Linked DNA regions of Homo sapiens: regions 2 and 3 are each linked to region 1. The links are contacts of gene promoters, found by promoter capture Hi-C in blood cells and fetal thymus (Javierre and others, 2016). All regions are on one chromosome and are shown on one strand. The core of a region is centred on a gene start or on the middle of the fragment in contact, and the rest is flanking DNA. Distances in the headings are between cores, read along the strand shown.

What was found. Contacts are between HindIII fragments. The CHiCAGO score rates a contact against its expected background, and 5 or more counts as called.
Region 2: a fragment that was not itself captured here is called in contact with the fragment with the promoter of SAMSN1-AS1 in region 1 in 1 of 17 cell types (monocytes); the score reaches 5.4 in monocytes.
Region 3: a fragment that was not itself captured here is called in contact with the fragment with the promoter of SAMSN1-AS1 in region 1 in 1 of 17 cell types (total CD4 T cells); the score reaches 5.5 in total CD4 T cells.

What each region holds. Positions count from the first base shown.
Region 1 is chr21:14,580,058-14,583,704 of GRCh38, forward strand. It overlaps SAMSN1-AS1 (SAMSN1 antisense RNA 1), which reads left to right and starts at 2,145. Exons shown (of 5, transcript NR_046512.2): 1 at 2,145-2,234. It also overlaps a transcript of SAMSN1 not described here. The HindIII fragment of the contact is 2,204 bases long and covers 34-2,237 here.
Region 2 is chr21:15,490,351-15,494,099 of GRCh38, forward strand. It overlaps the pseudogene CYCSP42. Among named protein-coding and RNA genes, the nearest start is that of USP25, 240 kb to the right of the region's middle. The HindIII fragment of the contact is 3,386 bases long and covers 470-3,749 here.
Region 3 is chr21:15,510,857-15,514,505 of GRCh38, forward strand. No RefSeq gene overlaps it. Among named protein-coding and RNA genes, the nearest start is that of USP25, 220 kb to the right of the region's middle. The HindIII fragment of the contact is 8,662 bases long and covers 1-3,649 here.

The sequences.
Region 1 (3,647 bases), core at 895-3,394:
GAGGGACTACTTCTGCCTGGTGTTACTCAGAAAAGCTTTCTAGATGATGAAGTATTTGATCTGAGTCTAAGGGATGATGGGATGGGTTCTAACAGAGAGAATTCACATATCAGGCAGAGGCCATCACACTGTCACAAAGATAGAGGGAAGAAAGTGTGAGACAGCCTTTAGGAATAGCAAATCATTCAGTTTGGCAGTTCGGCATAGGAAATCAATAAGGTGGGGGTAGTGCACAGATAAGACTGAAAAATTAGATTGAGTCCAGACTGATGAAATCCAGAAATGCCAAGTTAGGGAGTCCAGATTTTATTCTTGAAGAAAACTCTGACTATTTGTGTTCAGATGCCTATACAACAGCTTAGCCACTTGCCAAGGAGTCATCAGCCTTGATCCTGCTTCTGAAGATATCAGAGGGAGTCATCAGAAGCACGTCCTAATTATATTACCAGCTACTCTCCAAGAAGCTACTCTAAGAGAAAACCTGCAAAGTGCAGCAGTCCCAGAAAAGAAGATGAAGATTAAAGAAGAAGGAGGATATTTAGAAATGATTAATGTTGGTCAGTTTCATCAGTTCGAAGTCTGTTATCAGATACCTGTTATATTTACTATGGCACTTTGAACACAAGTTACTTTAATTCTAGTCTTTGCAGACTTAATGCACAAATCTTAAAAGGCAAAAAAAGTTCCAAGAGAAAATATGCCTTTTAAGAGACCTCTAAATATGTTATAAAATGTAGCTTCTGTCTAAGAAGAGACTGATTCTTTGAGGAAAATGGTAGAGAGTAGGCTCCCTGGATACACAGAATTGTCCCATTCATTCACTGAAAACACACATGACCAGAGGAGCTGTAGGTAAAGTTATAAAACATGCCTTGAGCAATTTACAAGGAAATTGAAAAAAAAGTACCACTCTTAAGTACTAGAAGATTTATAATATTTGACTTTAGCTTCTTGACTATTTCCATTTTTTAGTTAAGAAAGTTAAGATTAAAAGGTTTAAATAACTTATCCAAGCCCAAAAAAAAAGTAGCACAGCCAGAATCCATCCAAATTTGTTTGACTCCAGAGAGCATACTCTTTCTCACGTATCACATAATAGCCTTAGAGTCTGCCCTCGTATATGGAAAACACTCTAATGTAGTAGCTAAAAGCAGGAGCTCTAGCTAAAAGCAAGACCTAGGTTATAGGTCTTGGCTCTACCTCCTGTTAGCTGTCTGACTTTGCACCTGTTACCAACTTTTTGTGCCTCCATTTTCTCAACTGTAAAATGAGGGGAAATAATATTTCTTTTTTTTTTTTTTTTTTTTTTTTTTTTTTTTGAGGACGAGTCTTGCTCAGTCGCCCAGGCTGGAGGGCAGTGGCGCGATCTCGGCTCACTGCAAGCTCCACCTCCTGGGTTCACGCCATTCTTCCGCCTCAGCCTCCCGAGTAGCTGGAACTACAGGTGCCCGCCACCACGCCCGGCTAATTTTTTTGTATTTTTAGTAGAGACGGGGTTTCACCTTGTTAGCCAGGATGGTCTCGATCTCCTGACCTCATGATCCTCCCGCCTCGGCCTCCCAAAAGTGCTGGGATTACAGGCATGAGCCACCGTGCCTGGCCAAAAATAATATTTCTTAAGGTAATATTTCATAATGTAAGTCCTTACCTTATAGAGTTGATGTGAGATTTAAATGAGATAATACATATAAAATGCTTAGGAAAATGGCAGGCCCAAATAAAATGCTCATTAAAATTAGCTATTATTTTTCAGTGAAATTTCATTATAATTGCAATAATTTAGACAGTTCACTTCACATTTTCTTGATCTCAGTCAACACACGAAGTCTTCCTTCAATCAAAAAGAAATCCCTGGAAAAATTTTATGCAGTCATTAATTTGTACACAAAGGAATATATGAAATGTTAATATGGGTAAAAGTCACAAGAGTTTGGTTGCTTTTTGGAAAGACAACTCTTGCTCTGGTAACTTTTCTGAAACTGATAAATTTCACTGATTAGCACTTTTGCTATCTGTTTCTTTCCCGACAGTACAAAACCCCAGATAAGATGACACATTTCCGTAGTCTGCAAACTTACCCATGAATGTAGGAGATCCATATCTGAGCAGGAAGACTTGAGACGTGTGTGGCGAATACAAGAGGAGCAGTGGTCCCAGGGTCCAACTTGTGCTATTTGGAAATCAAGACATGTCCAGAGAGGGTTTTCAGGAAAAGGCTTCCAGTGATGCCACATGTAAGCTTCACCTTCATACCAAGCTAATTTATCTTCCAAGTTGCAGTTATTTAAAGTGCTGGATCTACCCAGTGATGCAGAAAGAGTATCCAATCTAATCTCCATTTCTTCCTTCCTCCTCGTGCTAACACTATTCACTTTCTTTTCTCGGGACTTGGTTAATTTCAAACAAGAAATCAACGTGTCATCTTCATCTTCTGAATGACAAAGAAATAGGTTAAAAACTATGATTATAATTCTTCACATATAGGAATTATTCTTCCATTTATATAAGAGAAATAAATACACTGCAATGGATAAACCAAGAAGTCATTCAATTTTATAAAATTATTTACAGCAGCATTTATTTAAAAAGCAAGTTATTTTGCTATATAAAATTTTTTGTTTTGTAAAAGTCGCATTTTTCTGACATTTTTGAAACCATAACAATTGATTAAATTCTATCTCACTGGAAAGAATGGAGGCCACATACAAATAATATGCTGAAAGATATTTGAGAAAAAAATACAATTAAAAAACCCACCTCTTATGTTTCTATTCTTAAATATTTTTTTAATTTTTAAGGTCATGTGTATAATAAAGAATTATAAGGAAATAAATAAAATTATTTGCCCTACTTAAAAGAATAAAATCTCAGTGGTTTGGACTGAAATCCTACTGACATTCTGAAATTGTCTATTTTAATATCAATCTACCAAGAGATGTATGGATGCAGTGTGTCTCACAGTGAAATGGTTTTCAAAAAACAAGAACGACAAAAATTTAAAAAAGCCATATCTGTAATACCATAAAGTTCATTTGTGAGATCTATATTTACACAATGTGGCAAAGACTCTGATGAAATTTCTAGTAATGTAGAAAACAGTTACAGAAAATAGAAATATATATCACCCAGAGTCAATTGCTCTATGTCATGGAATCCCTTTAAATCCAAACGTTTAATGGGTATTTTTAAAAGAGTTCGATTACTTAAGGCATGCTATTATAAATAAATAAATGAAAATCAAAGTTGCATGCCATGGACATACCAATTTGTTATGCTTACATCAAAATTCAAATACATTGTTTTCTATGGCCAAGGAATGGCGACAGTGGACACTGCTGAGCTTCCTCCATTGCTCTCTCTCACTGTGTCTCGGAGCCCGGTCTTGAAGGCAAGGAGAAACGGGGCGGTGCATAAATACGGGGTAAAATTCAGGAACAGATGGGGATGTCTGTTTTAAAATAACTTGGCAATAAAAAAAAATCCTCAATGTTTAATGATTATCTTAAGACTTTATCAAAATGGGCTTCATTAACGTATGCTTCCTTAGTTCTCCCTCAAAGGAGTTTTAACAGCTTATTGAGTTCTTACTTACGGAGGTTTATTAATGTCGGTTTCACCTCATCCAGATTCTGCACTCTGGCTTTCTT
Region 2 (3,749 bases), core at 913-3,412, 910 kb after region 1:
TGCCCAAGAATAAATAACATGTTGTTCCATTGTTAGCACAGACAATCTGGTGTGGCCCAAGGCCTCCCGGAAAACAAAGAAACTCATATAGGGCAAGGACATTCCAAGGTCTTAGAGATTTACCTCCCAGGAGCCCAGGGAAAAGGCCAAATCTTTCTTTGGACAAAATTAATTCTTTACTGCACACCAGCGAAGATCATTTTTGTTCCAAGGATGTGTCTTTTTGGACACATCAAATATTCTATCAGTGTTCTCAGGCACTACCTTTGTTCTTGTTGGCATCTGTGTAAGAGAATCCAGGGCCTGAACCATTGTCCACTCAAACAGACCATACACACCTGGTCCAGTTTTGTGCATGCCTCCCTTTTCCACAGTGTGCCACTTGCTATAGTTCTGAACAAAAACTCCCTTGCCCTTCGGAGCTTTATTTATTTTTAATTTGCTCTGTCATTGCATTGCATGCAATAGAAGCTTCCTGGTGGAAGCTCAATGTTCTGCTCAGTCCCAGACACGTTTTCAGCCACTGTATCATTGCCTTAGGTTGTGGTTTCCCCAAAGCAGCACCGGAGGTAAGGGCTTGTGTGCAGGAGTTCACTTGGGAGGTGGCTCTAGGAAATAGAAGCGAGTTTCCAGGAAGTGTGGGATGAATACGGGGATGGGGTGGGGGGCGGGGAGGAATCCAATATGAATATATAATCTCATATTGAGTATAAAAATCCAATATGAGTATGTTTTCCAGACTGCTGCTAAGGAGAATGGTGAATTATTCTACTGCGACCTTTTGAGGGTCCACACAATGCCTCCCAAAACTATCTACCAGAGGGTGGATAGGAAGCATTGATCCATGGCTTATATTCCCCATTGGTCAAACATTGTTCTGCTGAAGCTCACTCTGGCCACAGTCTTTGGCATCAAAAGAGAACTAGGGCAGAAGTCAAAGACATGGCTGTCAGAAAACTGGAGAGTGCACTGGAACTGTCTACTCCAGGTGTGGCTGGAGCCAGAGAAGTGACCTCAGCCATGTCTGCTGCAACTATATTACCTATGCCAGTTGTTTACAAACGCAGAAGAATATCAGAATCATCTGGAGAACTATTAAAGAACACAGATGCCCTGAATTGTAGAAGAGGGATAGGATATGGGCCTTTGTATTCTTACCAAGCTCCCTGGGTGATTCTGATACTTATACTAGTGTTTGAGTACCACTAATTGATACTCCATGCAGACCCTAGAAGGACAAGGCAGGCTCAACAGGAAGTAATTTGACATGAATTTTGTTGCTGTTAACCTGAACTCATGGTAGGTCTAGAGTGGGATACAGGCTGCCCCATGCCAATTCTGCCATGGACTTTACCATCCCCAGTTGTGTTGGTTCGGTCCACGTAATTGTTGTTGCTGCCTGCTCAGCTAGCACCTTGACACCCTACCTTGCTCTTGCCAACTCACTCCCTCAAAGAAAAGGAAAAGAACACTTAATCTGTTAAAGATATTTAATGAACACCTGCTATAAACTAGCCAATTTGATACACGTTTTACAAACATGATTTCATTTGATGCTCACGACAAATCTGTGAAGTAGGCAGTGTTATTCAGATTTTTCAGATGAGAGATCTGAATCTCAGAGAGACCTGAAGCCCTGTATCTCTTGCGGCCTGGATTAGAAAACAGATGTTTTGGCCTACATAACTGCAAAGTCTTCTCCATTCTTGTCTTTAGAGACAAGGTGTAACCACCACCTGCATTAGCTTTACCAGAGCATTTCTCTGTTCTCCTAAACTTTGAAAAGGCAGATACCTACCTAGCGAACATCTTATTTTGTAGCTGTCAAACCAGTCTCCAAGTATTAAAACAGTATCTGATCACACTTTGGCTGAATAGGTTTATTTAATGGGAAATTTAATGGGAAAGGCATTTATTGAGCACTTACTAGATGCCAAGCCCAGTGTTAAGTGCTTTGTATACAACATCTCTTTCCTTTACTGTTCATAGAAACAGGGCATCATCAGCTTCTTCTTGACCTCACAGAAGAATATATTTATCTGCCTGTAACAAATATGCAGTCAGGTGTGGTGGTTCATGCCTGTATTCAGGCCCATTATCCCAACAATTTGGGAGGCTAAGGCAGGAGGATCACTTGAGGCCAGGGGTTCCAGCCCAGCTTGGGCAACATAGTGAGACTCCACCTCCTCCCTAAATAAATAAATAAAAAATTAGCTGGGTGTGGTGGTGTATGCTTCTAGTTCTAGCTACTTGGGAGGCTGAGGCAGGAGGATCACTCAAGCCCAGAAGGTCAAAGCCACAGTGAGCCATGATCATGCCAGTGCACTTCAACCCGGGCAACACAGAGAGACCCTGTCTCTAAAAAATAAAAATGAAAAATGAAAAAAAAAAAACTTAGCAGCTTGGTTACTCAGAAAATAGATCCTCACAGATCATGAAGGTGATAAGATGCGGCAAATTTTATTCAGATATCTTGCTGGTTTTATTAGATCTGCTTAAATATTTTTGGAGCCTGGAATAAGACAGCGGTTATTTTTGAAGTTTGAAAATTATGACTGAACTTCACTTGTTTATTATTCATAGATTTTTGAGAGAATTTTTAATTATAAGTATAAATGTGTTTTAAAATGTTAAGAAGGATTTCAAATATATCTAAATGTTTAATGGCAGTTTAGCCCCTATCTTCTAATGTTTATTTTCATTCCATATATTCTATCAATAATTGATTCTTTCTCATTTTCCATTAGCTTTTATTAGCAAAGAGCAACCTTATAAGCACAATATAGCACATCTACATTTAGTGCTTCTTGTCCCCAAAATGGCAATTCCATTCGCCTCAGCACTCATATGTCCATACTAAGTTGCTAATCTTTTTCAAAGCTGCTCCAGACAGCTTCAAGGCAAATATACTTAGTGTATTACTTTGTATTCTTTGAACAGACAGCAACATAGTTTTTGACAGCTTATTTTCAACAGATAAGCATGAAGACATTGTAAAACAGTCTAAAGGCATTTAGACTGGTGTTAATGATTTGTTTTGATTCTTTATTGTCTACAGTGTCTGATGTTTCTGCACCAGCTTCTGCTGCTAAAGATAAGATGACATTTGATAGTTCGGTTCATCCTATGAAAAGTTTAATTTAATTACAAAAGGGTCTGATTTGCTAGATTAAAAGGTCAAGTATTATAAAATTCATTTTTGGTGCAGAGATTTGAGAAAGCTGCACAGTGCAAAGTTCAAACAGTCAGAGAAGAGTAAGACACTTTAGAAAATGAGGAAAAATTAAAACTATTGGCTAATTTCATTGGAGAAGGAGAGACTAGAGACACATTCTTGTATATACAGCAGTTGAACATACCACTTAAAATAATTTGTTGTCAGTATTTTTTTTTTTAGCCTTTTGAAAGTTTTGCATCAGGGTGATTTGCCAAAAAAGGGGTGGGGGCAAAATTTAGGGAACTACGCTAAAATTGTCTTTGTTTGAAAATAGCACGAGACTCTACAGAAGTATTAAGATAAGAATGCTCCTAGACAGCACAGGCAAGGACTTCACCGCCTCTTCCCCTGCTCACCATTTTACCTCAACCACACAAGCTCTGCTGACTTTTATTGGGGATTAAATGTCTCCAGACTTAAAAAAGAAAAAAAAATGCAATGAAATCCAGATAGCTGTGCTTGCTCTCAGCCCACTGAAGATGAGAGACAATATAAGCGAACGTTTTAGGGCGACTTCATTTAAGAACATGAA
Region 3 (3,649 bases), core at 196-2,695, 930 kb after region 1:
AAGAAATGGAAGTTTATAATATGCAAAGTTGTAGATATTTAGAAGTATTCAAAAGAAGGTCTTTGGCAAGATATTTTTGATATTTCTAATCAAAAGATAGGTAAGTGCTAATCCAGTACTTATGCAAGAGAAAATTCCCTGAAAAAAATGGAAAAAGACATTCATAAAATGTCTCAACTTTTTATGATTAAGTTCAATAGACAAAAACTTTGCCAAATTACTGTGAAAATTTCTAAATGTTTATTCTCATTTCTATACTTACCTTATTGCGATCCAGTATCAGTTCAGAAGCAGGTATCAGGCTATGAATCACATTTTGAGTAGCACTGGCTTAGCGGTCTTCATCCAGTGTATTTCTAGAGGTTCACTACTAATTCCTATGGAGACCTTTGTTTTCCAGAACAAAAATTAAATCAAGATGCAGATGAAAGTCAATACCTCCCTCTTAAAAATAGAAATCTTCTTTGTATTCATCATGCCTTAATATTGTATTCTCTTCTTACACCAAATAGTTTCTCTGGGTGCCTGGGAGAAGAAAGCATGAGTAAGAACAGAATGAAAAAGGAGACCTAGGAGATATGCTGTATTGTTGATTTATGGTCATATGTAACATTTATATGCCATTTTTCATCTGTTTCTTCTAAACGAGCTCAGCTCTTACTAATGATCAGTGTCCTGATAGTCAAGGTGTTGGCAAAGTTTCCTTAGGAGCAGGACTATTGTTTTTTCTCCTATATCAAATGACAGACCATTGATTCTCTAAGGAATGTCAAAAAACTATTACAGATTTTAAGACTAAACCGATAGTGTGAATAATAAATTTAAGATTATTTTAGTGACTCATTCCAAAATTTGAGGTAATCTGCTTTTCTTCTGACAATAAAAAGAGGGTAAATCGGCTTAATACTATGGGTCAGGGTGGAGGCCCAGCATGGCCCTGTGATATTCTAACCCTTGTGGGTGTGAGTTCTCATTGAGTACGCTGTCCTTGCCTTCCATTCCTTGCTATTGCAGTGTCATGCAGCTTACTTGCTCTCTGCCCTGTGCCACAGGCCTTCTCTCACTCGGTAGCTGACCCTTCATGTGTTTAGCTCCAATGGTTTGGAATCCTTGCTTTCTTTTCTCACCCTCTGAATCACTTATTATCTTCCTAATTAAAGCACCTCTTCATTAGCATATGATGAAATGCATGGAGTAGTGTGGGGCACCTTGTTTTAAAAGGCCTACTAATGACACATAAGCAAGATTCTCCCTCCCAGTACCAATGTCTCGGCCCCTGTGACTCATGATCTAGCTGTCTAGTCCTCTCTATCTCTATTTCTATTTTATTTATTTCTTAGAATCCATAGCTTTTTCCATATTTACCATCACCTTGAACTAGGAAAATGAAGTATGGAAAATAATTAAACCATTAAAATGTTAATATTTTTCTATACTAGCTTTCCTGCAGCTGGAATATAATGAGCTAATGAAGCCAAAATTTTTTTCAATTTTATTTTTTAATCCTATGCTATATAGTTTGAAATAGCAAAGAGCAAAATCAAGGTTGTAAAAAGATGTACAATGGGTGATTGAGAAGATACTCTAATGGAAATATGGGTTATAGTTAATGCTGTGTTTGTTCATTTTTAAAATATCATTTAGCACTTACTATGTTCTAAATCTTTGGGATACAACAGTGAATGAAACAGATAAACATATTCTAGAGAATTAATGCAGAGAGTATTGTTAAATAATTCAGAATAACATTTAAATTATGTTTAATAACATAATTTCAGACCCAACATATAAAAACAAACTGATTTTGTAAAATAACATTAAACATTATTTGGGTACTCAATAAATTGGAGTGCATCTGCTTGAAATATAAGAGACTTATGACATCCTGGAGAATGTTAGCTAGCTTCCTATTGGGGGAAAAGTATAATTTGATATAGTGTTCTTAATATTTTTAGGAATTCATATTCTCTTTAATTCTGTCAACGTGCTTCTAAGTACTGAAAATCATATTAGGAAAAAGCTGGCATTCAAACATGCCATAATCATTATTTTTAGTCTAAATTTTTCTGTATTTGAAGGACTTACTCCTTGAGCAAGTGCTTACTAAGGAATCCTTTTTATAAAGTAAAATACAACCACATATTAAGACACAGTTGTTCTAATCATGCATGTGGCTATTTTATTATGGCTGTTATATAAACACTACACCATATTTCGCCAACAGAAATGCAAAAACATTATGAAAGTGTTACTTCTGATCAGATATGTATCTGAAGCCGTTGAGTTTTTATATCAGGGATTGTATTATTCTGGCCACCTGGGGAAATAAGCAGCCAGGAAAATCTGGCTTGGACTGGGACAAGACTAATGCACTAATACTTATTTATGAAAGCATCATATATTCTGCTCTTCCGTGAATTATTGCAGTAAGAGTTTCACTGCAGTGTACATAAGGTGAAAATAAAAGCTGGAATGCTTCACTATGTGAATGTGCCACAACCTACCACTGAAGAAAGGTTAAGGATTTTTCTTTGATTTTTTAAAAAACTAAAACAAATTTATTTAGAGTCTCAATTATTGCTCAGTTAGGATAGAGACCTTTCAGCAGGGTAATATGTTGTTGCATGAGCAGATTTTTTTAACAGTAAAAAAGAGTATTCACTGAGGTTTTATGAAGATTAATCGATACTCTGGATAGATATTAGATTAACAGTCTTCAGATCCATTAGAAAAAGATGGGCTCAGATAGTTTAATTTAATATTTTTCATTTTCCAAAGATTATTCATGTGAATATCCTTGATGAGTTCATTGTTGTCTTCAAGAAAAAGCCCGCGCTTCCTTTTAGAGCTATATAATCAAATGACCCATCAAATTAATTAATAGAATTTTAATCTAGTGCAGCTAGCATGCTAATTAACTTGTCAAGTATGTACACAAAGTCTCCATGAAAGTTATTTTTGAAAGTCTTTGCAAGTGTGTTATGTGTGATTGCAAGTGCATGCAGTACCTTTGAAGCAATACACAAGAACCTTGGAAGGAACAATAGCTGGTTCCACTGAAGGAGGAGAACTGGGCAGCTGAGAAGCAAGGGAAAAGGAAGACAGACATTTTAAATTATGTGTCTTTTGTATTTTGAGTTCTGTTCCATTAGCATATATTACTATTTTTAAAATTGTTTTAATTAAATATTTGCCCAAGATGCAACAAAAGAAAGAGAAAGGTAAGAGAGGGACAAGAAAAGGGTAAAAAAGGGGATGTGAGAGGGGAGGAAGAGAGAAGCAGGGAACGCTTAACATGCTGTTGTAACCCACTATTACAAAAATACCCTAATCTGAGATCCTCTTTCCTTCCTACTCTTCTCCCCATGAAAGTTCCACTCAAACTAATCTGAATCTAGTTCAAGTCCTCATCATCTCTCGCCTGGTTGACTGCCACAGACTTCTGTCTTCCCTGACTCTGATGTTATCTGAACCATCTGCAGAATAAAGATCTCTGCCTGCCCCGCCTCCATCATTCTCATTTCCTCCTACCTTACGCTTGAAACTCTAGCAACACTCAACTGCTTGTTTCTTTTTCAGCAGTGCATGTATTTCCTGTTCTTCATGCTATTGCTCCTGTGGTTATCACCACTTCAAACATGCTATGGCC